Regions from separate parts of the Homo sapiens genome. Here all the other regions are linked to region 1. The links are contacts of gene promoters, found by promoter capture Hi-C in human tissues and cell types (Jung and others, 2019). All regions are on one chromosome and are shown on one strand. The core of a region is centred on a gene start or on the middle of the fragment in contact, and the rest is flanking DNA. Distances in the headings are between cores, read along the strand shown.

Region 1 (7,460 bases), core at 3,607-6,106:
CAGCTGCTCGTAGGACATGTCCAGCAGCTGGTCCAGGTCCACGCCGCGGTAGGTGAACTTGCGGAAGGTCCGCTTCTTCTTCTGCTCTACTTCTGCCATCTTGCCGGATCCTCAGAAGAGCAGCATACTGGACTTCTGTATGCACCAGAAGAAATGCAACATTATTTTGTGGAAGTTCAAAAGACAGATGGCATCTAGGGCTCCCAGTGCCTCATCTCCTGATGGGTGGGATTTGGATTTTCTTTCCACAACCCTCACAACATGTCTTCTTACTCTACATTCTACATCTGTGTGAGGGACAAAAAATTCTGCATGAGCATGTTTCTAGCATCTAGGTGTTTTTTTTGTTTGTTTTTTTTTTTTTTTTTTTTTTTTTGAGACAGAGTCTCGCTCTGTCGCCCAGGCTGGAGTGCAGTGGCGTGATCTCGTCTCACTGCAAGCTCCGCCTCCCTGGTTCACGCCATTCTCCTGCCTCAGCCTCCCGAGTAGCTGGGACTACAGGTGCCTGCCACCACGTCTGGCCAATTTTTTGTATTTTTAGTAGAGACAGGGTTTCACCGTGTTAGCCAGGATGGTCTCGATCTCCTGACCTCAAGATCTGCCCGCCTTGGCCTCCCAAAGTGCTGGGATTACAGGCGTGAGCCACTGCGCCCGGCCAGCTTCTAGGTTTTTAGGAAGGCCATCTTCTTCAATGCTCTCCCCCACCTGCTACATCAGGAATCACCCAACAGCATTGCTGACAGGTTATTGAGTCTGATTAGGTACTTTGGTGACAAACTGCTTACAATCTCCAGAGGGAAACTTCTATCATTTAACAACTCTGTTTTAAAAAAGTTCACAGGCAGGGGTGGTGGCTCATGCCTATAATGCCAGCACTTTGGGCCGCCAAGGCAGGTGGATCTCCTGAGCTCAGGAGTTTGAGACCAGCCTGAGCAACATGATGAAACCCCCTTTCTACCAAACATACAAAAATTAGCCAGGCATGGTGACACACGCCTGTGGTCCCAGCTACTTGGGAGGCTGAGGCAGGAGGGTGAGTCCAGGAGGTGGAGGCTGCAGTGAGCCAAGATCATGCCACTGCACTCCAATCTGGGTGACAGAGTGGGACCCTGTCTCAAAAAGAAAAATAATTAATTAATTAATTAAAAGGTTAACAGTAAGCCACAACAATGTTTATTGAAAAATTTCCCCTTCTCAGTGACAGTTTTATTTAATATCAAAGTTAGGTTCTTAAAAGATAATTTAAAAGTTGAAATTCTCTCAGTTTTACATATAACTTCAAGATGATTCAACACCATTGGTACCATTTGGCCATGTTTTCATCCTCCCGAAATGTTTTGTTAAATGGGGTCTGGAATCCCAGAGATTCTCATCTGCTGCTGCTATGAAGCAAAATTAACTCAAGAGTGGAGTGAAGGTGTTAGGTCAATGGGGTGAAAACATTAATTGAGGACAAAGACTAGATACTTTTAGGGAGAGGGATAGGGATACAATGATGTCATTATAGAATTACAAGCTAAAGTTCGCAAAGGAAAAGAATCAGTGTAAGATGAAACAGGCAATGTTTGCAGCACTCAGGAACCAAAAAAAGGTCTGAAAAAATAAAACCGGAAGATTCAGGGATAGTTTCCTTTTATTCCTAGGGATCCGCTCTCACTCTTCTCTCTTCTGCTCTGTGCCCTAAGTTGACCTGGGATGGATACATGGACTGCCCTGTGGCTTCTGATTAGGTTCTGGTTAGCCCCTGGGACACCCTAGGCAGAAGATCAGAGGGGAGAAGAGTAAGGCTGGAATATTTATCTGCTTCCATCTTTCTCCCTATGAGGTCTCTGCAGGCTGGCTGCATCCCTGTACTCAAGGCCTCTATCGGACTTCCCCCTCCGCACAATTTTCTCTCTGGATTCCAGTAATTCTCTGCCCTTCAGACCTGGGGCACTGCCTAACCCTGAGGTTTCCTACACTGCCCACAACTTCATAAACAGTCTTGTTCATTATGAAATTACTCAATTCCAATATGCTGTTTGTTTTCTGCCAGGACCCTGATTAACACACTCAGTCTCATTAGCCTCCCAACACATGTTTATTGAGTAACTACCACATCCCAAGGAGGAATAAAATGATCAATTAGAGAATCAATGCCTTCAATAGGGCAGTCTGAGAGTGGAGACAGCCAGAGAAGCAGATCCTTATATTACATCCTGACAGGTGACACAAGGAGGCACTGGATGGGGAGGTCAGTGGGATATAAAAGTCTGGGCAGGGGCAGACTCAGGGAAGGTTTCTCAGTGGAGATGGGGGTCAGGGAAATTTAGAGGCAGTGGCGTGGGTAGGAAGTGGTCAGAAGCTGCCAGAGCAGTTTACAGCCAAGGACATCAGGGCCAGTCAGGTTGTGGTAAGAGACTGGCAGGGGGTGCTAGGCTGGACCAGATCAAAGAAAGCCTTGTGCTGGGGAAAGGTATCCTTCTCTTCCATTTGCTTACTCTCCCCACCAAGGGAAAAATAATGACACAGGTGAGGTCTACAGCCTTTTACTCTGAGCCCTTAATCCTGCCCTACTACCATGGCTTGCCACTCCTATTTCCTTAGCCTGCTTTGAAAATCATCCCCGTATACTTCCTGCACATTCTAAGGTCTTTCAAGACGGCAACAAGACAATATAGCAAAGTAGTCCTTGGAGATGAGCTACAGAAGAGGGCTAGAAGTGAACGTTCCCAAATGCATTCTGGAAGCCCTGGCAGTCAGAACCCTTTTTCTTATAATAGCATTAGATAATGCTGACATTGTTTTTGTCCAGTGGAGAAGGGTGAGGATAATGTTGGAAAGAGGGCAGGGAGCAAGCTTCACTTCATCAAGGAGGGGCTTTGGTTCAAATTGGTTTGGGTGGGCGGGCACTTTGAAAATCCATTTGTCACACTAAACGGCAAGTCCAGGTCCAGGAGGTTCCTGTCTTCCCTCTCTCAAGAGCAAACTGCAAGTAGTTTCATTGCAGGATAAGGCCAAGCCCACCGCTGCCCATGCTGTTTTTGTTTTGTTTCCAGACAGAGTCTAGCTGTCACCAGGCTGCAGTGCAGTGGTGCGATCATACCTCTCCTGAGCTCAAGTGATTCTCTTGCCTCCACCTCCCAAAGCCCTGGGATTACAGCTGTGAGACACCTCATGGGGACCCGGTTTACTGGGTTTTTTTTGTTTTTTGTTTTTTGTTTTTTTTTGAGACAGAGTCTCACTTTGTCACCCAAGCTGAAGTGCAGTGGTGCAACCTCAGCTCACTGCAGCCTCGACCTTCTGGGCTCAAGTGATCCTCCTTCCTCAGTCCCCCAAGTAGCTGGGGCTACAGGTGCATGCATTTGTATTTTCAGTAGAGACAGGGTTTCACCTTGTTGCCCAGGCTGTTCTCAAACTCCTGGACTCAAGTGATCTGCCCGCCTTAGCCTCCCAAAGTGCTAAGATTACAGGTGTGAGGCACTGCGCCTGGCCTTTACTGTTAACTTAAAACAAAAAATTATAAATTTGAAAAAAGAGGAGACTTTATTTCTTATAAAAGGTTATAGCCTGCAAGGAGGCCATTCCATAGGCTGATAAACATAGCCTCTGGCCTAAGACCAGAGACAGGCACTTGGAAGGCAGAGGGGTTGGGGTAGGAGCTTTATGCTGAACAGTTTGGCCAAACATACATACGTAACAGGTTACAGGAGGAGCTATGAATATTAATGGAGGTGGTCCTTACACATGCATATTGAACAAACATGCATGTAACATGTTCTCTTTGGGGTGGAGACTTAACATTTAATTGTATTACTTCAAATACATTTAAATGTATTACTTCAAACCTACACTTCAAAAGGTCTTTTCAGGACGTGAATGCATACAAGTGCACAATCCCTGTACACTGGCCAGAACCGGTCCATGGTCGGTCTTCTTATCATGAAAAAGTTCCTGAAATCAGCCCAGTGAAAGCTGTAGTTCTGGCTGGTGCAACAGGGGTTCAGCTGGTCAGCATCTGTGAACTGATTAAGTTGTAATTGTTTTAATATTGCTTATCTCAAGCCAGTGCTTGTTTAGCCTCTAGAGGAAAAGAAAACCTTTGTGGCAGTTAGACCATAGTTTATTTCTTAAGTGTAGGAGTGTGTGACTTAGGTCCTTTTTATAATTTGATGTCTTATTGCTACAAAGAGTCTGTTCTGTCCGCCTTATGATTTCTATTTTAAACATTAATGCTAGTCAGCTGTTGAGTCTAAATTCCAAAATGGAGGGGGTAGACTTCCCTTCCGGCTGTAGCTAGAAACTCAGCTTTAAGGTTTTTCTGGGGTCTGCTTGGCCAAGGAGGTCCATTCAGTCAGTGAGGGGCTTAGGATTTTATTTTTAGTTTACACCACCTTACAGGTTCCTCCTTAACACCCTTTGATGTCAGAGACAGCCAATTCTCCAGCACTGTGGCTAAGGAGGCTTCGTTAGTAGTTAAAAGCACACACATAACCCTACCCAACGGATCCCTCTCTTCTCTTAACCAAGAGGGCGCACCACTGCCCTACTCAACCTCCCCACAAATAAGGACGAGACACGGGAAGTGTTAAAAGCAAGTGGTGAGTATAAAATCCTCGGAATTTTCTCTTTGAGCAACTAACTAGGTCTGTTACTGAAGCCCTCTGCGAGCTTGGATGCTGGACGAGGGAGAGGGTGAGGCCACCAGGCAATGAGCGCCCTCGGCGGCCGCGTGATCCCGGGGGTGGGGCCCATTTCTGAGTTGGGGCCAGCTCCCCACCCCCAAGAGGCCCCACATTCCGGGCCAGCAGCCCAGAAAGTCCCTCCCCGCAGGCGGAGACAGCCCCAAGAAGTCGACGCCCCGGTCCCGCCGCCCGGCCACTACCCAGAGGGCTGCCGCCGCCTCTCCAAGTTCTTGTGGCCCCCGCGGTGCGGAGTATGGGGCGCTGATGGCCATGGAGGGCTACTGGCGCTTCCTGGCGCTGCTGGGGTCGGCACTGCTCGTCGGCTTCCTGTCGGTGATCTTCGCCCTCGTCTGGGTCCTCCACTACCGAGAGGGGCTTGGCTGGGATGGGAGCGCACTAGAGTTTAACTGGCACCCAGTGCTCATGGTCACCGGCTTCGTCTTCATCCAGGGCATCGGTACTGGCACCTCCTGGGGGGGTGCGGGGAGGAAAGCGGGGAGAACGGCGGGGGCAGAGGGTCCTCCGTGAAGCCCCTTCCAGCTGAGGAAGTGCTGGAGGATCGCGGGGCCCGGAGGAGTGCGGTGAGGAGCGCGCGGGAAGCCAAGTCGGCTGGGCGGGAGGGAGGCTGGCTGGCTCTGGGGCGGGACAGAGCTGCGGTTCAGGAGGATCGCCGCGAGCGCGGGGCCGGGGGTGCGCGGTGGAGACGCGCTGCTGGGGGCGGCGGAGCGGGGCCGGCCCCACTTGGTTAACTCTTTGCGGCGACTGGCTAGGACGCACTGGAGGGGCCTCCAAGACCCAGAAACTTGAGCCCGGGCGCGATGCCGGAGCGCCGCGCAGTCGGGCCGCTGCAGCCCACGCGCCCCGGAAAGTCGCCCCTGTGGACCGAGCCTGCGCGATCGGGGGCGCGGAAACACTTTCGCCTCAGCCTTTTGCTGAACTTGCTTCCAGGCTGCAGATGAGGAGGGGAAGGCAGCGGGGAAAAGATTGCCGGAGCGAGAATTTGCCCGTATTTGTAACATCCTCGGCCCTGGGTAAAGGGGCTGGCCAAGGGGGGCGAGTGAAGCATCCGCCCTGGGTTCCTCTCCTCCTAGAGTGTTAAACTCAGTCGAGTCCGGGAAGCTGCCAGGACTTCCAAGTGTGTTTCGCCGCCCTGCCCAGTCATTGGACGGTCTTGAGCCCGACTTGTTTATGTGGCAGAAGAGTGGCGAAAGTTCCCCCGCGGGGCTTCCTATTGGGCACTGGCCCAGCACTCCGGGTGGGAGATGCCCGGAGAGGGCCCGCGGCTGCCTGGCACCGAGGGATGCCTCTGCTCGGGATGCCCCCGGCGCAAGCTGCGTCCGTGTTTGGCCCGCGGCGAGCCAGCCCCGGGCCTGCATTCTCTGGGCTGAGGCTGGCGCGGGGGAGGGGCTCAGCAGTCGCTGGCAATGTTTGTTGTCATTGTGTAGTGCCTCTCAATGTCCTGACTGCTTCCTTCGGTTTGCCGTGTAGCTGGAGGAACCTCTAGCTTTTGGCGCAAACACCATTTATTTGTAACCACTTCCCCAAAGGCACGGCCTTCAGAAAGTAGTTAGAGAAAGGCAGCAAGGGGTGGAGTGGTGTTATGTCGCAGAAAATAATCGAGAGGAGTAGCAAGGGTTTGGAAAGATATGCCCACTGGCCGAAATCTCTAGCTTTGCCTGCGGGCAGGCTGCCTTTTCTTCACCAAATATTTAACTCCCCACAAACGAGTGTGCAAAAGAGTGCTGACCTCATTCCTAAAGAAAAGTGATTTTGGCTTTTGTTTTTGTTGGTTGTTTTAAACTTGTACTGCAGCTTTGGCAAGTGTGGCCAGCATTCTCCCACTCTGGAATGTAGTGGAAGGTGTTACTAACCCTCAGCATTCAAAGGCTTCCCTGGTGTGAGATCGGCATCAGGGTGTGAGATCGGCATCAGGGTGTGAGCACCACTGGGCACCTAAGGCATTTCGTTGCGTAACTCTCAGTTATTTTGCCACTATGCTTATAAGAAAAAAACATACTCAAGTTCCAAAGTAACTGTCAGAAGCACTCTTTCCTTCGTGGTGGAGCCCTTAAGTTTGGCCCCGAGCTGTCTACACCTTGTTTGCTCAAAGAGTAGAGCCAGTCTCCTCTTCTACCCAACTCTTCAGAGCAGCTTCTAATACCAAAAAGCTTTCTGGAGGTCTTGGAATATCTTCTCATAATTGAGGGTAAGGGAAACACAAGTGTTATTGCTCGTTGCCTGACTTGCCACAGAGGAGAAGACATCAGAATGGCTAATAGTGATTGCATGCTGTGTGTCCACTAAGTGCATTATGTCACATCACATGTATGTAAGAGTAAACTGAGGCAGAGAAGTTATGTAACTTACCCATGAAAGTTGTTTTAAGTCTTTTCAGTGACCTTATCGTCAAAGTTGGATTCTCTGCTTTTATGGCAATATGCTTATTTTCTGCCAAATCTTTTTAGACAGCGAAAACCTTCATCTAAAATATGTTTTGAAACTCTTCATTCATGTTAGAGTCCAATATACGGTTTTCTAAAAGGTTTTTAAATTTCTCTAAACTTTGTACTTCTCTTAATCTGTTCATACTTAACTCTTGGACAAAAATGTGTAAATTTTGGCAATTTTCATCTGCTGCTCTTACGAAAATCTTGTTTCTTTTTTTCTTTCTTTCAAGACGTAGTCTTGCTCTGTCGCCCAGGCTGGAGTGCAGTGGCGCAATCTTGGCTCACTGCAACCTCCACCTCCCAGGTTCAAGCAATTCTCCTGCCCCAGCCTCCCCAGTAGCTGGGATTA
Region 2 (7,460 bases), core at 2,190-4,689, 470 kb before region 1:
AATAACCTATAGGGCTTGTTACAACAGATTACTGGGAACCATTCCCAGAGCTTCTGAATCAGGTCTCAGGAAGGACCTGAAAATTTCCGTTTCTAATAAGTTCTCCAGTAATACTGATGCTCCTGGTCTGAAGATCACACTTTGAGAATCAAAAGTCTAGGCCAACCATGGTGGAATCCACAAGACAAGGGCACAAAATCTTAAAAGTGCTGAGAGAAAAGAATTGCCAACCTAAAATTAGATACCCAACACAGTTGTTTTTCAAGGAAGAGGAAACAGAATTTAGCACCAATAGACCCTCAGCAATTCAAACAAAATCTCAACACTGTGTGTGTATGATGCATATGCAACTTGAAACCTGATTCTAAAATTTCTCTAAGACTGTGAAGGGCCAAAAATAGCCAAAAAGAAGAAGAGGATATCTGTTTAACCATGTATCATGACTTAACATAAAGCTACATAACTATGATCACCCAAGCCTCCTCCTTCCTTAATAATGGAAATTCAATGTTTTATCCTGGATTGCTATCTGCCTAGCCAAATGACTACAGTTCCCAGCTTCCCTTAGAGCGAAGGATGGTTAATGAGATGCAAGCAGAAGTTGTTCAATGAGATATCCAAGAAGGCTGCACACAGAATTGTGCTTTGTGTTCTCTGCTCCCATCCTCCCTCCTGTTATCTGCTTAGAACACAGATATAATTGTGACCCTAATAGATATATTGAACCTTGATGTGACCTTTGAGATATAAGCCATGAACTAACAATGACAAGGTCCCTTATGATACTGAGGAGTAATAATATCTGAGCTGCCCACTTCTGTTCTTCTCTTGAAAAATAAGCTTCTATCTCATCTGAAGTACTGTTATTTATGTTCACTGTTACTAACAGCCAAAAACAACTGATAAAAATTGTTTTATCAACAATGATAAAAAGATGCTGCAGTACTTGTGTAGAGACACAAACAGAACAAGGAAACATGATACAGAACACAGAAACAGATCCACCTGTATACTGGAAACAAGATTTTATGATGATAGAGCTGGCAGTATAAGAATGAGCTTTTAATTAAATGGGGATGAACAACTGGTTATCCATATAGAAAGAAATTGAAATGAAACCCTACATCATGCCATACCCAAAACCAATTTCAGTAAGACTAATAATTTATATTGAAAGATCAGCTGGGCATGGTGGCTCATGCCTATAGCCCCAGCACTTTGGGAGACCAAGGTGGGAGGATCACTTGAGGCCAGGAGTTCAATACCAGCCTGTAGACTCCCAGCTCTACAAAATAAAAAAAAATCAGCCCGGAGTGATGGCATGAGCCTGTAGTCCTAGCTACTTGGGAGCCTGAGGTAGAAATATTGCTTAAACCCGGGAGTTTGAGGCTACAGTGAGCTATGATCCCCCACTGTGCTCTAGCCTGGGCGACACAGTGAGACCCTGTCACTTAGCGGGGGAAAAAAAAGACCAGACCAAAAAACCTTGAGAAATAACTGGTATTATACAGTAAAATGGAAAATGCGTATGCCCTGTACTCTGGCTATGTCTTTCCTAAACATATACCACAGAAAAATTCTTTCATATGTGCCCTGAAGACATGTACAAAGAATGTTCTTAGAACTGTTTATACTAGAAAAAGTAGAAATAAAATGTCAACTAAAAGCAGAAAAGATACAGAAATTATGGTATACTTGTAACACCTTACAATATTGCAATGAAATGAACAAACTACAGTTATACTCATCAAAGTGGATGACTCTCTGATATATTTCATTGAAAACAAGCTGGGCAAAAGGGTCCATACTGGAAAATTTCACTTAACGTTCAAAAACCAACTGAAATAATATGTTGTGAAGAATGTAAGCACATATTTAATACAACCATAAAGAAACACCAAGGCATCACAAATACAAAATTTAAAATAGTGGTTAAATGGTAAATGGGTGTGAGAAAGTAAATATGACAGGATCAGGAAAAAGACACACTGGATGTTTTAAAGACACTGTCAAATACAGTAGGATCACAGGTGTTGGTTTTATCGAGTTTCTACACCAGTAGTTCTCAATGCTGTCTTAAATTAAAGTTATCTGGGAGAGCCTTTAAAACTACCAATGTCCAAGACCTACATCATCATCAACTTGATCAGAACCCCTCAGGGTAGAGTTTCAGGCATTAGTACTTTCACCCTTCCCAACTGGTGAGTCTAAGGAGCATCAAGGGGTAAGAACTGCTGCTTTAAACCCTTACATTCTTAAGTATACTTCTAGATGTATTTTTAAATAAAGCTTCCATTAAAAATCCTACAGAACTGCAGCAGTTACTTCATCGTATAGGTATCAGATGTCAGGCATATAATAAAATCAATAAACTTTAACATGAAATGGCTATTTGTGTTATGGTAGTTGGTCATATAAATGTTATTAACTTCCAGTTCTCCAACAGTTTCTCAATTCCCAATTTATTGAAGATCTAATAAAATATTTCACTTTAAAATTGGTATTTTTCAATCATGTACTTAAACTAACAGAAAAAGCTTATTGAGTTCTAGCTACAGAATTTTTTTTTTTTCTGAGACAGAGTCTCACTCTGTCGCCAGGCTGGAGTACAGTGACGTGATCTCAGCTCACTGCAATCTCCACCTCCCGGGTTCAAGCATTTCTGCTGCCTCAGCCTCCCAAGTAGCTGGCACTACAGGCACGCACCACCATGCCCAGCCAATTTTTGTATTTTTAGTAGAAACGGGGTTTCACCATGTTGGCCAGGATGCTCTTGATCTCTCAACCTTGTGATCTGCCCGCCTCGACCTCCCAAAGTGCTGGGATTACAGGCATGAGCCACTGCGCCTGGCCTAGCTACAGATTTTTTTACAATGCTAAGTATTTTCTGAACAGTTTGACTGTTGCCAAATAATTTATTCAATTTTTTTCCCCTCTATGACTCATTACTTACCCTGAGCAAATCATCTATACGTCCCTCCTTCTTTTCCAGGTCCTGGATTTTATTACTTTCTAATGCTGCTAATTTCAGCATTGTGAGATCAGTCTAAATGAAAAAAAGTTATTTTATTATCTCCATTATATATGTTGTTTCAAGCAAACATAAAACTAGATTTTACTCCAAATTCAAAAGGTAAAGAAAAATATATTTGTGTGTATATGTAAAGTGAATCTCAAAAAGTTTTAGTGCAGTTTTAATAACTTCAAGTGTATAAATGCTACAGACTTACCAAGAAACATCTAGAAAGGCCAATTACTTAGAATACTGATGTTCCTCATTATAATTCAATATATCCGCTGCTTTGTGCTATACGTTCCTCTAGTTGATTTTTTTGAATTTTGCAAGACCTTTTTTAAATTGATAAGTAAAAACCTATCTATTTATGGTACACAACACGATGTTTTGATATATGTATATACAATGTGGAATGGCTAAATCAAGTTATTTAACACATATCTTTTTTTTGTGGTGTGAATAAAATCTACTCTCTTAGCAATTTTCATATACACAAAATATTGTTTTTAACTGTAGCCCCTATGATGTATAATAGTTCCCTTGAACTTACTTTCCAACTAAAATTTTATGTCCTTTGACCAACATCTCATGCAGCAAAACCTTTCATGATCTACTCAGTGGCTGAAAGGAATGTACTTCTAATCCTAGCCTCAGGATCATCCAAAGAAAGAGGTTTTGATACATGCACAACAGTTTGGATATGACCTCACAAATACAGTCTAATAGAAATAAACTGTCAAGCTGAGCTTGAAGAGTAAGATCTACTCTCCCAAACCCCAGTCTGAGAAAGTGCCACTCAGAAACTGTCACATGTAAAAAATTAAAATGAAAAACTTAGTGCTCAAATTCATGAAACTAAATAAGTATAGAAAATATACAAATAATTCAAATAATGTTTATAATTTGTCACATATACGTATTTAATAAATACAGTCAAATGAGAGGCTTTAATGTCCACTTCTAAAAAATACAGCAGTTTCACAAAATATCAATTACATATACTTGGAAATTAAGTTCAGAAAGAATCAGTAAACAGAACTGACATGTTAACGGTTGTTTAAAAAGCTGATAGTAAATTGTGTGTTTCAGTTTCTCACTCCTTCCTACAAATTCTGTTGTTTTTGTTTAGTAAGTTATCTTTCTTGATGTGTAATTCTGCTTTATGACTACATATAAAACAAACAGACATCTTAGTTGTTAGTAAGTTAGTCAATGGTTTCTTAGAAGCCATAGAAAAAAACATTTTAATTATCATTTACCTGAATAATTTTAAAGGATAATTGCTTTGGTTGTACAATAGGGTGGTCCCCAAATGCTAATGCAGTAGGAGAAGGGCTATTCGGTCGAACCTAAAGAAATTATTAAAATTTTTATATTAGCAAAAAAAAAAAAAAAAAACACAAAACAAAACAGATTTCTAATTAGCAACAATTACTTAACATTTCTGAAGAAGTTTCTATCAGAATAATACCTAAATTGAAACATAATTGACTTTTAAAACCTTTAATCACCATTTATTCAACAAGTGTTCATTAAGTACCTCCTACATAAGACCCAGTGAGAAATACAACAATATATTCCCTGCCCTCATAGAGCTTACATTCTAGTGCCATAAAAGAAATCTTAATGCTTTCATACAGTTAAAAAAAAAATAAGGCCAAATAAATTATTCTGAAAAATATTAAACAATGATTATGATAGTTGAAAAAACAAACTTACTAGGGACAATAATACACGCCCATATGTAGTTTAATATCAATTTATCAATGAATTTCATAGTTTATCTGGTCACTAGTTCAAAAAGACACTCACTGAAAGCAGATTATAACATTGTATCAGCGCTATCACTACAACTCTTAGTTACTGTTGAATCTTATGCCTTACTTTTATACACGGCAATGTGATATCCTGAAAGGTACAAAATGAGTAAAACAAAACCAAGTATGTCTAAAGACAAAGGACAAGAAGGGGACACAAGACATAAAAACAAGATGTTTGAATAAATAAGTGAAACTCTGATTTTTAAAAATCTTTAATTCCTCTTTAAATTACTGAAAACCAATATTGTTTTTCTAGTTAGATATTGAACTTTCACACAATGAAAGTAAATTTAAAAATGAAATCCAATATGCAAAACAATGCATATAAAAGAACTATATCTAAAATGTTATGAAAAAACCAAAAAGTTTAAGATAATTTTAAGTCCATGATTCTTTTCCTATACTGAACTACATACCCTGCCTTTTTCTTAAGGATTCCCAGAAAGGAATTATGCTATCATTTTAGTGGTTAAGAAATTCAATTGTTAAGAAAGTTATAAATTAGGAATCAACAACTGAATACAGACTGATACAAGAGTACTCATGTTAGTCCCACAGACTCAACAGGCATTCTTTTAACATAAACAATGCTTCTTGGATATAATTAATTCAGAAAATCTTTAAGAGGCTCACTTCCAGAAATAAAATTCCAATAGCACCAGATAACTTAAAAGGATTTAATTCATGTCACAGAAATAATGTATTAAAAGATAAATGCTAACTTATTTATATAGAAGTTCTCAATAAAAAACAACAAATTATAAAACTTATTCAGTGTACATAACCCTCCCAAAGACTACACATGAAAAACTTGAAAGATGACTTACAGATGAGGAAGGAGTGGAATGTGAATGTGAATTTTGAGGAGAACGGATTGCAGGAGGTATGCCTCTTACTGGACTTGAGCCATTTCCACCCTGGTACTGAGTAAAAGAAAAAGGAAGCATTATTATTTACTAAAGCAGGCTCAGACAGTTATTTCAGATATGACATTAAGAATTAATCTAAATATACCTAATTTTAAAATAAGTAGTCATTTAAATGGGTCCAGAACAAAAAAAAAAAACACAAGGTCAGCCAAGTCCTAAAAGACTAAGAGACTACTGATCACAAGAACATGACGAGACTGTTTTATAAAGATCCTTATTACTCTATATTCTGACTATCATCTGTTATTTTGGTCAACTCAAAGACAAATAAATTCCTCCAAAGCAATAAACATATTTTGTTTTCCCCCCAAATCTTAGCACAGGTCCCCTACAAATGTTTATTGAGCCATATAGTCCCTAATCCCAAGAAATTTCAAAATGTTTACCCATAGACCTTAGTGAACATAATCAACTATTTTAAACAGAATATCATTCTCAAGATACCCAAGTGTTCATGGCACTATATAAAAAGAATTATAATAGGTCCCTTCCCTCTAACAGCACAAAATCTTTAAAAAATCAATTCTTCTGTACAAAGTGCATGACTTAGCTGCATATGAAGAGAAGCCAACTGATCTATTCCATAGCTATCTTTTCTCCTATTTCAAGTTCACATACGAAGGATGGGAAAAGAAAATAACTTGCTGCAGCAAAGTTCCTCTGGGGGTGTAGATTATTGTCCATTTCATCATTTCTTGTTTAATTACTTTACTTACATGAACAGCACAGATAGGAACTTCCCAGCATGTTCATTAAACAACTTCCTGCAACCTAGGGATTTTGCCTTATTTATTTTATCAATAGAGCCTAGCATAAAATTTAGCACATAGTAGGCATTCAAGAGACATTTGTTGATTTGAATTCATCGTACCTTTGGCAAAGGTTCTTAATTAATGATATCAGTAAGTGACTGACCTCAACCAAAGAGCATCAGGTATCTCATGGTCAGCAACTGCTTTACTTTAGATTTTACGAACCCAAGAAAGAAAGCAGTGGTGGAAAAAAAAATCAGTCCTTCCCTTAATCAGCCAATTCTGCTCTCTCAAGTAAACATAAATATTTTTCAATTGAGTAGACCATGTTTGTTGTTTTAATAATTACACTTGATAGTAGAAAGAATTCTCAACTAGAGAGCCAGTGAACTTTAACTTCTATTCTTTACTCTTCAATTCAGACTTTGCCTTAAATGGGTTAACCCATTTATGCCTAGTGTTCTATTATTGCTCAAGGTCACTGCTGCCACGGTCTGACTGCAAAAATTCAAAAAATTACGGTGTAGGCTACTTTACATTTCTGGTCTTCAGTTTCATCATCTGTAAACTGAAACACTAATATGTATTTTGCCTATCTTACAGGTTATTATAAACAACTATGTGAGAAAGTATTTAGAAAAAAATGATATGGCATCCCAATGTAAATGTAAATCTAATTTTCCTAGAAAGATATCACATAGTAATAAAGCTCTGCTCTAATCAAGTAAGTAATCAAAAGCTGACCTTGTGCTTCTAAGAAATTATTTCTAGCTCACAGCAGAATAGTACTGAATTAGGAAATGGAGACAATCCTCAATGAACTTACTTCAAAATAGTCGCTAATTTTGTGGCCACGTCCCCCAATACTTTTTCCTAAAATATAAGAAGCGCATGATGTTAGTAGGGTAGTGATGGGCATCAAAAAAATATTAAGAGTCCGCAG
Region 3 (7,460 bases), core at 2,989-5,488, 320 kb before region 1:
AAAAAATTTTCCCTTTTAGGCTAAAAGCAAATGGCTTACACACCAGTACATGAAGGGCATAGTTGGGGCTCGCCATTGAAGAAATATATTTCTTTAAGCCTTATTCACATTAATCTGTGAACACAACACTTAGGAAGTGTAGAAAAATGAGCCTCAGCAATCAGGGTTTCTACATATAATTGTGCCATTTGTGGACTGTACAACCCAAATAACTATAAACAGTCTTCAATGGGGCCTGTAATTCCATCTTCCACACCTTCAGAAATAAATTGACTGAAGAAGAGAGGAATGTAAAGAAATCTTATGAAATCCTGTGATGTTTTTTCCCATACATGAGCAAGGTCGATCATTTATTATGTATCTTTAACTTCCCTACCATTTATTATGAAACAAAGTAAAGCTTTGGGGGTTGAGAAAAAGTTCAGTGAAATAAAATTTGAATAAAAATTAAAAGTAAAAGCCACTGTGGGCTGGGCGCGGTGGCTCACGCCTGTAATCCCAGCACTTTGGGAGGCCGAGGCGGGCGGATCACGAGGTCAGGAGATCGAGACCATCCTGGCTAACACGGTGAAACTCCATCTCTACTAAAAATACAAAAAATTAGCCGGGCGTGGTAGCGGGCGCCTGTAGTCCCAGCTACTCCGGAGGCTGAGGCAGGAGAATGGCGTGAACCTGGGAGGCGGAGCTTGCAGTGAGCCCAGATCGCGCCACTGCACTCCAGCCTGGGCGACAGAGCGAGACTCCGTCTCAGGGAAAAAAAAAAAAAAAAAAAAGTAAAAGCCATTGTAATTATTTTTCATTAAGAGAAAAATTCATTTGGTTATATTAGAAAAAAGAGGGAGGATTGAAACACAAGGTTCTTGGCAATCACTACACGAATCACTGCTCTGCTCATTCACTGCTCCTTTTCTAACACAGCCCTTTCCTCAATCAGTTCAAAATGCAGAATGTCTGTGGCTGGCAAGTTGAAGTCAGCAGCAAAATTTCTCTGATATGCATTTTCGTATACTTGCTGTCAGTAAAGATTCAACTAGTGAAATCCTTCAAGCCCTCAACCTTAAAGATGTGAAACACTCTTCACAACTGAAAACACCCTTTTCCTGACAAGATGTCAGACACTAAGAAGAATACAGTACTTGTATAAAACATAATCCGGCCGGGCGCGGTGGCTCACGCCTGTAATCCCAGCACTTTGGAAGGCGGAGGCGGGCGGATCACGAGGTCAGGAGATTGAGACCATCCTGGCTAACACGGTGAAACCCCGTCTCTACTAAAACTACAAAAAATTAGCCGGGCATGGTGGTGGGCGCCTGTAGTCCCAGCTACTCCGGAGGCTGAGGCAGGAGAATGGCGTGAACCTGGGAGGCGGAGCTTGCAGTCAGCCCAGATGGCGCCACTGCACTCCAGCTAGGTGACAGAGCAAGACTCTGTCTCAAAAAAAAAAAAAAAAAAAAACATAATCCACCATGGATAAGCTCTATATTTGAATATATATTATTTTCTACTGGGAAATAATGAAGTATGTCCTTGTCTTTTGTTCCTGAAATTAAGTATATTGTTACTAAATCATCAACACTGTTCATTTTGTAAAATATTGTCTTCTTACATCTCATTTTGGTGGAGCATGTGGATAAACACCTAAAATGATTACATTTATAAGATTTTCTGTTGAGATCCCAATGAGCTAAAAGGCATTGTAGGCCAGAAGCAGTGGCTCACGCCTGTAATCCCAACACTTTGGGAGGTCGAGGCTGGCAGATCACCTGAGGTCAGGAGTTCGAGGCCAGCCTGGCCAACATGGCAAAACCCCGTCTTGCAATGTTCGTGTGTGCCTGTAGTCCCAGCTACTTGGGAGGCTGGGACTCACCTGGGAGGTGGGAGACTCACTTGAACCTGGAAGGTGGAGGCTGCAGTGGGCTGAGATTGCACCAGTGCACTCCAGCCTGAGTAACAGAGTGAGACTCTGTATCAAAAAAAAAAAAAAAGAAAGAAAGAAAAAGGAAGGAAGGAAGGAGGAAAGGAAGGAAGGAAGGAAGGGAGGGACATTGTAGCTGGTTTTTTTTTTTTGAGATGGAGTCTCACTCTGCCTACCAGGCTGGAGTGCAGTGGTATGATCTTGGCTCACTGCAACCTCTACCTCCCGGGTTCAAGTGATTCTACTGCCTCAGCCTCCTGAGTAGCTTTGAATATAGGTGCCCACCACCATGCCCAGCACAGTTTTGTATTTTTAATAGAGATGGAGTTTCACCATGTTGGCCAGGCTGGTCTCAAACTCCTGACCTCAGGTGATCTGCCCGCCTCAGCCTCCCAAAGTGTTGGGATTACAGGCGTGAGCCACCACACCAGGACTTGTAGCCAGAAATGGTGAGACCTTTTCATTTTATTTAAGTGTAATGTGGATAATTGTCTCCTGGTAATTAGAAAACATCAAACTCATGGGGATTTTTTAAAAATGTTCTCAAAAAATTGACATGGTTACTTGGTTTGCCATATATCTATATGTTTTTTCTATGTCCGCTCTCGCAACCCCTTCCCAGCTACATGGACAGAGGTTACAGAGAAGTCAGTGCAGAAGAATGGTGAGCTTGGGCATCCCTTCAATGGGCTCTAAAAACTAAGCAGTTTGCAAGGGAAATACAAAAAAATGGTATGGTATCTGAAGGCAGCAGTCTGGAGGCCATTGTCAGCCTGGTTCTATGAGAGACTTCACAGTGAGTTTGCAAAGAAAGTTGAAGACAGATTGGGAGGACTATTCCATCAAACTTAAGCATTAGTTACAAAAGTAACTATGCCTATATGAATATAGCTCTAAAAACTTAGTAAGGTTATTTTATGTTTTGCTTTGCTTAAACTTACTTTCATAGTCTTTTTCAAAGTAATGAGCATATAGCTAGAAGCTACATTTCACGTAAGTCATAATTTGGGCCTTTAGTTGGACTAGAAAAACGAAATGTTTCTTTCCTCCTGGAAGCAGGAGAACCCTAAGTGTGGGGAAAGTACAAAGAAAAAAAATACTCAGTAGCAAACTTTGAAATCTAAACTTTTGTAAAGTAATAATATTATTGCAACAGTGTTATGTTTTGTGTTATGGTCTAATGGTGGTGAAAAAAATAAGGAAAATATATGATAAACTTCTAGGTTTTTAGAAAAGCGCTCATACATTAAATTTTCTTATACTTGACAGATAATCTCTGAATATGAAAAGATTTCTTATTTAAAAATGAGAGAGAAAAAAGCATTTGAGGAAAAGGAAACTGGTTAAATAATATTTTCTTTTATATAGCTTTTTACAAAAAAACCCGAAAATACCCCCCAAAAGATAACAGTACAGAACTATAGGCACAAATATAAAACATTCAATAGTATTCAATGTGATGTTTTCAAAGTGTTATCAAGGGACTACCTGCATCAGAATCACTTGGAGCATCAGGTCAGGCACAGTGGCTCACGCCTGCAATCCCAGCACTATGAGAGGCGGAGGTGGGCAGATCACTTGAGGTCAGGAGTTCGAGACCAGCCTGGCCAACATGGTGAAACCCTGTATCTACTAAAAGTACAAAAATTAGCTGGGCGTGGTGGTGCACGTTTGTAATCTCAGCTATTCAGGAGGCCGAGGCAAGAGAATGGCTTGAACCCGGGAGGCAGAAGTTGTAGGGAGCCAAGATCATACCACTGCACTCCAGCTGGGGTGACAGAGTGAGACTCTGTCTCAAAAACAAAACCAAACAAACAAAAAACAATAAAGAATCACTTGGAGGACTTGCTAAAATGCAGATGCTTGGGCTCTACTCCAAACTTCTAAAATTAAAATGTGGGGTAACTAGGGGTTCCAGAATCTGCATTTTTGGCTAGTACCCTTATATGATTCTTATAAGAACACTAAATTATGAAACAACTGCACCAGACAAAGTTTCCTGTGGATAGACATGATGTGTCCATTTTTGTATCCTCAGTACCTACCCTGGTTTCTGGCCTAGAGTAGATGGTCAATAAATGTTTACATGAACAACTTGCATAGGGGAGATGGTCTTTCTCCTCTTAATCATAGTTTAAATCCAAGCATTTACTAAGGAAAGTATCATCTACGTTCTATAGTTACCAGAGGTAAGCAAGAACAGAGAAAAAAAATGATAACGGTAAAGAAACATGGGCTGGCCAGCTGGAAATACATTATAAATGTATTTGACATGCATATTTAATGTGTGATATAAATGTGTAAGCGCATTTAATATTCTATAAATGTGTCAGCGCAATTAATTATAGCATGAAGCTTTTCTGCTCAGAGGCATCATTTAAGAAACAGCAGTGGTTCAACATGGCCACTATATCTCAATTGGAAAAATAATGTAAAATATTTGCGTCTTATGGATGAGTAGAATAATTTTCAATAGAAATATTAGCCCATTCAAAACTGCAAGGAAAAAAATCCAGGAATGAATGTGACAAAGTAGAGGATTGGAGTGGATTTGGATAGATGTATAAAAGAGCCATTAAAACTATTCAATTAGCAGGTTGTAAGAGCAGCTGGGACTAGATAGAGTTGGTGGTTGGGTTGGCAGTGATGAGAGTGGGAAGTTAGACAAGCATCCAAAGATGTGTTAGAAAAGAGGCCTGATTGACTAAAGGATGGAGATGAGGAATAATTATAAACGGCCTTTAAACTCTGCATGGTGAGGAAATTCTGACTCTGATAAATTTATCCTCCAATCTAGAAAAGCAAATGTTTGCTTGTTTTAGTTCTTTACTGATGATTATTTAAGACCTTTCCTATCTATTTACCTGTTGATCAATTTTAAAGTAAGTTTTATTTCCCATATAAGTACTTTATTTAATAGATTCAAATGAACAAAGCATGACTTTGACATCACCAGAATCACATTTTTGGTAATATATAACATGAATTATTAAAAGTAAAACTCAAGTCCTGTCCATCCAATAAGTTTCTAATGAAAGAACCATGTACCCAAAATTTGTTTTTCAAAAAAGGGAAAGGATTGTTTTCCAAAGAGCCATCTGTAACTAAGTTGTTTGCAGCTTGGAAGTAATTTATTTTAAAAGTAGTGTTATATTAGGAATGTGCATGTGTATCTGCCAGATCAGTTTTCTAGGCTAGCCCATAAAATCATGCCAAGGTCATTCTGAACTCAAAACTCCCCAAGAGCATCAGGTGCAGTGGCTCATGCCTATAATCCCAGCACTTTGCAAGGCCAAGGTGAAAGGATTGCTTGAGCCCAGGAATTACAGACCAGCCTGGGAAACATATGGAGACCCTATCTCTACAAATAATTTAAAAATTAGCTGGCTATGGTGGCATGCACCTGTAATCCCAGCACTTTTGGGGAAGCTGAGGCAAGAGGATCACCTAAGCCTGGGAGATGGAGGCTGCAGTGAGCCGTGATCACATCACCACACTCTGTCCTGGGTGACAGAGTGAGACCTGGTTAAAAAAAAAAAAAAATCAGAAACAAACCACAAAGTGCAGAGTCTGTCTGAGCCTCTGAGCCTTGAGTCCTAAAGCCCAGAATCAGTCTGAAGTTCGAGGGCTCCCTCAGCCAGTGGATCTTCCTATAAGTGTGTGTTTGGGATGGGGCACAGTCAAAGTAGTAAATCCAGTGGTCCCTTTTGCTGGGGAAAAACTTTTCAATTATGGAGGAGGGTCATATTACAAATTCGAAATAGAATCTGAAAATTTCAGAGCCTAATTTACTGAAAGGTTTCTGCAAAGTAGAAATCAAGGAATATAATGTTTGATGTTTTCATGTCTTTGTCATACGGAATACTGGTAAGCAAATAAACTCAGATTTTGTTGATATTTTCAACAGAGCAAGTGTAAGGTAAAAAAAGAAGCTTTCCCACAATAGATCATTAGTAACTGCTGAGCAGAGGGCACACCTTTGACATGGCTTACAATAATGGCCAATGACTCAAGAATTCCCTTTTCTGGAAAACAGGGAACCTCTAGCATAAATGTGAGAGACTGGATGGTGAGGCCAAGCAAGAGTTTTTTCCCCTGATTAAATCATAACCAATACTATTAGAAAATAAAGCCCTGTTTACACATAAACATAAGCAAATTGTGTCTTTGGAAAACACGGTAGAAATAGAAATTGTGGCGTTTCCACTTTCCCCTCCCATCAAGATACTATTTGTCAGCATTCCACAGTTATATTACATTATTTAAAGTGTGCTTTGCTTCATCCTTCAAGTGCTTGTTTTTTCTACCCCCCCATCCTGTGTTGTTAAATTTCAGTTGCGTGATATCATTACTTAAAGGAGTTTAAAATTTTGGTCTGTGCAACAACAATGGTTTGGAATTATCTTTATCATATGACTATCTGGAAGCCATGGTTCCTTTCTTTGAACTGTTAGAATGACTTGCGCAGCCCACATTTTACAGTCTTGCCGCAATGTATTGGGATCCATTAAGGTAGGCCTAAGCTTAGGAATTTAAAATTCAGGCAAGCTAAATAAAATTGGATCAAAGTCAAAATTATTTGGAACCTGGGGATGGTGGTGCATGCCTGTAATACCATTTGCTCATGAGAAGGATGTGGGAGGATCAAGCCCAGGAGTTCAAGGCTATAGTGTGCCATGATAGTACTTGTGAATAGCACTACACTGGGCAATATAGTGAGACCCCATCTGTATTTTTACAAATTATTTGGGAGATTCATATCAGGTCCTTTTAAGTCTTAATTAGCAACAGAAATATATTAGAATCAATCAGATTTTAGTTTGTATTATTTTTATTAATCTAAATCATTTAAAAATTGCTCCTGACAAGTCAAATTAGGCACTTGGCTCAGATCCCTTCTTTTTTTTTTTTTTTTTTGAGACAGAGTCTCTCTCTGTAGCCCAGGCTGGAGTGCAGTGGCGCAATCTCAGCTCACTGCAACCTCCACCTCCCGGGTTCAAACCATTCTCCTGCCTCAGCCTCCTGAGTAGCTGGGAATTCAGGTGCATGCTAACATGCCCAGCTAAGTTTTTTGTATTTTTAGTAGAGAGGGGGTTTTACCATGTTAGCCAGGATGGTCTCAAACTCCTGACCTCAGGTGATCCACCCACCTCAGCCTCCCAAAGTGCTGGGATTACAGATGTGAGCCACCGCACCCGGCCTCAAATCCCATTTTTATATTATCTGTCTTCCTTACCCTAAGTTCATCACAAAAGTTTTTACATTCATAGAGTATGTTTGAGATTAATTTTAAATTCATTTTATCAATGCTTGTTAATTACTATTGAAATGCCATCTCATTATTTACAGATTTACACTTAATATTTTGTCATCAATCGTTATGAAGCATCTTTGAAATTACTAGAGAGCTGCCATTTATTAAGAGCCATACTATCAACATGAACCCTGCCTGACCTCACTTCAGAGCATTTTTGAGGACAGCTGTGTCATGTATCCAGCCACTCAACTAGGAAATCCCATTCATGACACATTTGATAGGTGATCA
Region 4 (7,460 bases), core at 3,064-5,563, 270 kb before region 1:
AGGGTTTCACCATGTTGGTCACGCTGGTCTTGAAGTCCTGACCTCATGATCTGCCTGCCTCGGCCTCCCAAATTGCTGGGATTACAGGCATGAGCCACTGCATCTGGCCGAAAATAACTTCTAATGGAAATTTTGACAAAGCTTCTTCGGGAAGTAACTTTGGGGGAAATTTTGGGGGTGGTCTTTGCGTACATGGTTCAGGAAAGTTTGTCTCACTGTCTAACTTCATAGCTTTATAAATCAAATTAATGGTGTTGAGTTGTGGTATAATATAGTTGGTCTTTATTTGCCTCCAGTTCCTGGCACAGAGCTCCTAAATTATTAGAATTTCTTGAGTGATAGGTGTATCTTTTGTTATTCATAATGAGCTCCTTTTGACCATACTAGAGTTTATGTTAATGAGGTGACTCAGGGTGGCCTTAGATAGATTTAGGTTGGGGACTGGTCCCCAGAAAGACCAAACATGGGATCAGAGGGTTGAACATTTAACCCCACCCTCCAACCTCCCGGGAGGGGAGAAAGGCTGGAGATTGAGCTCAATCACCAATGGCCAATGATTTGATCAAACACACCTACAAAACAAAGCTTTGATAAATACTCTTGAACAGTGAAATTTAGAGAGCTTCTGGGTTGGTAACATTGATGTGGTGGGAGAGTGGCACCGTGGAAGAGGACATGGAAGTGTGACTGTAACAGGTTCCTTACCTAAAGCATGGCAAGTGGACACACTGACCTCAAGGATTGCAGCAGAGAAAGGGTTTAATAATCATAGGGCATCTGAACAAGGAGATGGAAGGAAACCTCAGATTTGCCTCCCTGAGGAGTTTGTAAGGGGTTTGGAGTGGGCTGAGGTGTGGGGATTGCAGGGTGAAGTCATGGACTGGAGAGATGAAGAAACTGCATTCTCATGTTGATTCAGCTCTTCTGTGGGGATTGCAGGGTGAAGTCATGGACTGGAGAGATGAAGAAACTGCATTCTCATGTTGATTCAGCTCTTCTGTGGGGATCCTCAAACTGGTTGTGGATGTCAGCTGTTCTGCTGGAATTCAGGATCTGAAGAACATCTTAAGCAACTCTTAAACAAAAGCCTCATGATTCCAACATCCGAAATCCCATCTATAGAAACAATGTGGATGCAAATGGTCAGTATCCAGTGCTATGTGACTTTCAGTTACAAGTAAGTAGGCCAAAATGCAGCCTATAATTAAGCCTCATGCTTAATTATAACTATATTTCTGTCCAGAACCTGGCATGAAATTCTTGTCAACTCTGTGATTGAAACCTCCTTTGCAAAGATTATGACAGTGAGAGAAATCTAACATGGCTGACTCCATCTTGCTTCTAGTCTCACAGGCTGGCTGTCTTTGCTCATTCCTGGGGATAGGCCAAGGTAACTGCGAGGAATATAGTTCATAGTTTAAAGCAAGAATGAGAAGAGTCCCTCCCTGAAACTGATCCCTTGTTTGTTCAGGGACTGAAACTGCCTTTGTAATGGGAGGGGCCTGACTTCTGCCAAAATGCAGGCATAATTTCTCTAATCTCTTACTGCTCAGGAGTCATGTGGCCAGAGGTCACAAATCTTGTGACTTCCCCAATTGCTCCTGTAGGAAACATCCCTGTTGTGGAACCTAAGATTGGTCTTTTGAGATGTTTTTCAGACTTTTGCATTCAGGCAACTGATTAATTCCAACTGGACTGGTGACTTATGACTCAACCAATCCTGTAGCCCCACCCAGAGGCAGACTCAGCACATAGGGACTGTTTTCCACACTCTTATGCTTTTATTCCCCAACCAATCAGCAGCACCCATTCCTTAGCCCCTGCCTGCCAAACTATCCATAAAAACCCTAGCCCCTGAGTTCTTGGAGAGATTGATTTGAGTGATAACATCCGTCCTTCTGCTTGGCTGTCTTGGGTTAATTAAGCTCTTTCTTTACTGCAATACCATGGTCTCAGTGAATTGTTTTGTCTGTGCCGCAAGCTGGAAGCACCCGTTGGGTGATTGTACAAGGACAGTTTCAGAAGCTCTCCACTTCCTTTCTCCCGCAGCCTTGCCCTATGCATCTCTTACATGTGGCTGTTCCTGAGTTGCATCCTTTATAATAAACCAGTAATCACAAGCAAGGTGCTTCCCTCAGTTCTGCAATTTGTTCTAACAAATTATCAAACATGAGGGAGGGTGATGCGAACCCCCAAATTTGCAGCCAAATAGGATAGAAGTGTGAGTAGCCTAGAAACCCAGGAATTCTACCTGGCATCTGAAGTGGGGGCAGTCTTGTGGGACCATGACTTTAACCTGTGGGGTTTGCACTAACTCTGGGTAGTTAGCATCAGAGTTGAATGGAATTGAAGAACACCCAGTTGGTGGGAGATAACTGGTGAATGGATGTTGGAACAATGTGTTGGAAAAGACACTGTAACCACCCAATGGTTTCACTTTGCCCACTGCCTAGACAGAGCTGATTTCTAAAGACAGGGGCATTGTAACAGAGAAAGTGTAATTCACACAGAGCCGGCTGTGTGGGAGACCAGAGTTTTATTATTACTCAAATCAGTCTTCCTGAGCATTTGGGTATTCGGGGATCAGAGTTTTTAAGGACAACTTAGTGGACGGGGGGAAGCCAGTGAGCTGGGAGTGCTGATTGGTGAAGTCAGAGATGAAATCTTAGGGAGTTGAAGCTGTCTTCTTGTGCTGAGTCAGTTCCTGGTGAGGAGGGGGCACAAGATCAAATGAGCCAGTTTATCGAACTGGGTGGTGCCAGCTGATCCATCAAGTGCAGAGTCTGCAAAATATCTCAGGCAGTGATCTTAGGAGCAGTTCAGGGAAAGTCAGAATCTTGTAGCCTCCAGATGCATGACTCCTAAATCATAATTTCTAATCTTGTGACTAATTTCTTAGTCCTACAAAGGCGGTCTAGTCCCCAGGCAAGAAGGAGGTTTGTTTTGGGAAAGGGCTGTTATCATCTTTGTTTTAAACTATAAATTAAGTTCCTCCCAAAGTTAGTTCAGCCCATGTCCAGGAATGGACAAGGACAGCTTGGAGGTTAGAAGGAAGATGGAGTCAATTAGGTTAGATCTCTTTTGCTATCTCAGTCATAATTTTGCAAAGGCAGTTTCAACACCACACATTTGGTGTCAGAAAAAACCCACACATGGATATATGCAAGGTTAGGATCAATTTTTCCCCAGTTGGTTAGATGATGCCACATTGTAGCACTTGTCACACTATGTTGAACTGCTTGTTTCCTTGTCTGTCTGTTCTATTAGACTGTGAGCACATGGAAGACTAACATGGGCCTTAATGCAACTTCATTCACATACCAGGGGGAAATCCAGGTTCTGCAGGCCTGAAGCTTACATAGTTTGGGGAAGGAAGGATTTTTCAAAAGAATACAAAATTAGGTATGAAGAAATCACAACCAATTACAAGTATAAAAAGCTAATAAACACAACATCTATGAAAATGAAATGTTTTTCTTTATTAACTGCCTGACACATCTCTATATTTTTCCTACTTTTTTGGCTTGTCTTCTTCGATTACCTCTTTCTTTTTCTTTTCTTCCTATTTTTTTTTTTTTTTCTGAGACAGAGTTTCACTCTTGTTGCCCAGGCTGGAGTGCAATGGCTTGGTCTCAGCTCACTGCAACCTCTGCTTTCTGAGTTCAAGTGATTCTCCTGCCTCAGCCTCCCAAGTAGCTGGGATTACAGGTGTGCACCACCACACCCAGATAATTTTGCATTTTAAATACAGACGGGGTTTCACCATGTTGGTCATGCTGGTCTCGAACTCTTGACCTCAGGCGATCCACCCGCCTCATCCTCCCAAAGTCCTGGGATTACAGGCATGAGCCGCTGGGCCCAGCCTTCGATTACCTCTTTCATATGACAATAATTTATAAGATCATTTCCTATATTGAATAGAAAGGTCGTTCATGCTTTTCTCTAGCATGGTTGATCAACATGTTTTCTAATATTTCCTAGAAAAGCTTATTTCAGTTCCCCAATTCATTATTGCTAAGTCATGTAAATTTTTACAAATGCTATCAAATTTTGGAAACCTCTACCAAGTGTCTTACATAGATGGGTTATAACATTTCAGGGCATTTCAAATTATGACACAGTGACTAAACTTAACTGTTCTTTGTATTGACCATACTCCTATTAACCAGTGTATCATCAATGCCCTGCACCATCAGGTCACAACATCAGATGACTTGTCATGTTGAAGAGTACAAGTATTCCTACCAGCCATTCCTAAGCTGGGATGGCCAGCATAGCTTAACTATTTACAGAAATGGCTGCCCAAACACATAAACGTATCCCACTAAAGCCCAAATAAATGTATTCCTAGCCCAAATTACCTTAGAGGAATCTCAAAATGACTGTGAATCTCCAATGCCACTAGACACAAGGGAGAACTGAAGTAAAGAGGAAGTCAAAGTGGAAAGAGATAGTAATCTTAATCAATTGTGGTTAGAGTATCTTACCTCTGCAAATTTTGCAAAAACATATGACCACATAAATATATCGCTAGGTGCCTTCTTGGAAGAGGCACATGACACTGAGGGTCTTTGAAGCTGAAGCTTTACTGGCTTCATGTCAGATTCCTGCCTGCCTCACACAGTACTGGTCACAAAACAGGTACTTTACAAGTATTTGCAGAGTGCACGAATGAGAGTTCATCTGTGTGCAGTCTGTCGAACGGCAGTAATGATAGCATGGGCAGGGAAGGAGTGAGTAAGTGCTTTGAGTCCATTACCCTAAGTCAGGGACTGCCTGTGTCCTTTCCTTTTAAAATTTGTTCCAATGTAGTAGAAGAAATACAAGGTTCCTCTGGTTAAAAACAGTGAAATGATTAAATCTTTACAGCTCTGAAAATAACTTTTGCAGCACATACCTCATAGTCTGTCCTTGCTGCCTAAAAGCAAAGAGAGCTGGCAAATCCACTGGGTAATAAGGAGGCCTCCAACCTCCCTGCCGCCTTCATTTTGAATATCCACCCCCCAACTCCGCCACCCCGCAAGTCACTTTGCCTCAATACCCTGACAAGCATCTTGATCATTTGGGGGCATTCTTTAGAAACTTTGATATGAAAAGGCCTTTCTCATCTTCAGATCAGTGCTTAAGTTCTACATTCATCAAATACAAAAGTGAAAAGAAGCTTTTAAAAATGTCATTGGCACTCACAGGCACCATCAGGAGAATGCTTGCACAAACTGTTTAGGGAATATTTCTGATAATAAGAAGCAACATTTCCAAAATTTGAAAGAATAACTTTAAGAGTACATATAAAAACACATTCCATTCTAATAATTTGGGCTACTGATATCCTACCTAAAAAACAAGCTATTTGCTAATTTCACAGAGTATGGTAGAGGTCAACATTGCTGTGTGTCTTATTTTTCTCTTATAGTTTCAGTTCTGAGTTGTGCCCCAAGTTGGAAATTATGGGAAAAGTGTTGTGACTTAGCTGGGAGTCAGAAGTGAGCCTCAGAGTTGGCTAGCAGAAGCAAATTTCACAAAGTTTGAGAAAACTAAGTTCATAGAAATAGGTTATAGAATGGATAAGGGGTCACAGATAGGAGTGCCAGAAACACACCCAGGGTAGACGCCAATTGTGTTGGATTTATATTTGCAGTTTCTCCAATATTAGGTAGTCCCCCACCCAACTAAAAATTCCACATAAGAGATATTTATTATTCTTGGGGTACTACTCAGCATCTGAAACTTCTTCCTATGTTTGGGGAATCCTACTTTATGAGTCTTAGTGGGAAAAAGTGCCTACTTCCCACTTCAGAAGCAGAAAATGCCAGATCTTCATTTCCCAGCTCCCTTACTGGAAGGTGGTGTTATACAATGTGGGCAAAGCCAATTAGAAATATCTGCCTTCGACTTTGAACCAGTGACACAGGACATAGATACTGCAGAGAATCCTGTTGTTTTTTTTTTCTTCTTAAATCAGCCAGAAGTAGTTTCTGTCATGTGTAACTTGTGACCAAATTATAGCTTCTGACACCTTGGTCACAAGTAAAATGCTATTTTAGGGGGCCTGAAGGGCACTTTGAAATCCTGAGTAGTTCCCTTTAAGGATTCAAATATGACTTTGGGCTGCATTTTAAATTTTAGGCTGGGTGCAGTACCTCATGCCTATAATTCTAGCACTTTGGGAATGAGGTGGGAGGATGGCTTGAGCCCAGAAGTTCAAGACCAGCCTGGGCATCAAAACAAACTCTGTCTCAACTTAAAAAAAAAAAAAGCCATGTGTGTTGGTGTGGGCCTGTGGTCCCAGCTACTCAGGAGGCTGAAGCAGGAGGATAGATTGGGCCCAGGAGTTGGAGACCTCAGTGAGCTATGACTGCACCACCACACTCCAGTCTGAGTGACAGAGCAAGATCTTGTCGACATCTGTTGGGATCATTGATCTTCTTAGTAACAGTGAAACTGGAGCAAGTATTAGGAATCTAATTTTACAGCTTAGGAAAATGAGGCACAGAGAGCCAAAGTGCCCTGTCCAGGTGACAAAACTCATTTAATGGCAAAGCTAGGGATCTTGATATCCAGTCCTGTGATCTTTCTCTTCTTGCCTTCATAAATCTTTTTTTTTTTTTTTTTGGAGATGGAGTCTCACTGTTGTCACCCAGGCTGGAGTCAGTGGCTCGATCTTGGCTCACTGCAACCTCTGCCTCCCAGGTTCAATAGATTCTCCCGGCTCAGCCTCCCGAGTAACCGGGATTACAGCTGCCCACCACCATTCCTAGCTAATTTTTGTATTTTTAGTAGAGATGGGGTTTCACCATGTTGGCCAGGCTGGTCTCAAACTCTTGATCTCAGGTGATCTACCTGCCTTGGCCTCCCAAAGTGCTGGGATTACAGGCGGTGAGCCACCACGCGCAGCCTCCATTGTAAATCTTTATCATGCAGGCAAAAGAAAAGCAGAGAGAAAGATGCATGATCAGAACTCAATTCATATAAAGATCAGAAAGGTCGGCCGGGCGCAGTGGCTCACACCTGTAATTCCAGCACTTTGGGAGGCCGAGGAGGGCGGATCACGAGGTCAGGAAATCGAGACCATCCTGGCTAATATGGTGAAACCCCGTTTCTACTAAAAATACAAAAAAATTAGCCGGACGTCGTGGCGGGCACCTGTAGTCCAGGCTACTCGGGAGGCTGAGGCAGGAGAATGGCGTGAACCCGGGAGGCAGAGCTTGCAGTGAGCGGAGATCCCACCACTGCACTCCAGGCTGGGCGACAGAGAGAGACTCCGTCTCAAAAAAAAAAAGGCTCAGAAAGGTCATCAAAATGACCTGATGCAGCTTCCAAATCTCAAAAACAGGACCTGGAAGCAGCAGAAAAAGGCTTTTGAGTCCCGTGCTTTTTTACTGCTAAAGAGACAAACCAAGAGATTCCTCCTTCTTCTATCAGCCAGCTTAGAGTGTGACCAATTGTGAGGGGCAGTGAAA

Evidence for each region. Contacts are between HindIII fragments. The study calls those that stand out against the background at their distance.
Region 2: a fragment that was not itself captured here is called in contact with the fragment with the promoter of CYBRD1 in region 1 in 2 of the 25 tissues and cell types used here (heart right ventricle and mesendoderm cells).
Region 3: a contact is called between a fragment that was not itself captured here and the fragment with the promoter of CYBRD1 in region 1, in 1 of the 25 tissues and cell types used here (liver).
Region 4: a fragment that was not itself captured here is called in contact with the fragment with the promoter of CYBRD1 in region 1 in 1 of the 25 tissues and cell types used here (small bowel).

What each region holds. Positions count from the first base shown.
Region 1 is chr2:171,517,618-171,525,077 of GRCh38, forward strand. CYBRD1 (cytochrome b reductase 1) reads left to right here and starts at 4,857. Exons shown (of 4, transcript NM_024843.4): 1 at 4,857-5,121. The coding sequence starts at 4,929. It also overlaps the pseudogene RPS15P4. RefSeq lists an enhancer at 4,946-5,055 and silencers at 5,166-5,275, 5,426-5,495. The HindIII fragment of the contact is 9,103 bases long and covers 1-7,460 here.
Region 2 is chr2:171,050,808-171,058,267 of GRCh38, forward strand. It overlaps TLK1 (tousled like kinase 1), which reads right to left. Exons shown (of 21, transcript NM_012290.5): 5 at 7,344-7,390; 6 at 5,664-5,759; 7 at 4,276-4,365; 8 at 2,954-3,046. Among named protein-coding and RNA genes, the nearest start is that of TLK1, 110 kb to the right of the region's middle. The HindIII fragment of the contact is 3,750 bases long and covers 1,565-5,314 here.
Region 3 is chr2:171,194,068-171,201,527 of GRCh38, forward strand. It overlaps a transcript of TLK1 not described here. Among named protein-coding and RNA genes, the nearest start is that of TLK1, 37 kb to the left of the region's middle. The HindIII fragment of the contact is 3,807 bases long and covers 2,336-6,142 here.
Region 4 is chr2:171,243,892-171,251,351 of GRCh38, forward strand. LOC107983995 (a long non-coding RNA gene) reads right to left here. Exons shown (of 3, transcript XR_923576.2): 3 at 742-1,116. Among named protein-coding and RNA genes, the nearest start is that of TLK1, 87 kb to the left of the region's middle. RefSeq lists an enhancer at 412-1,611. The HindIII fragment of the contact is 4,689 bases long and covers 1,970-6,658 here.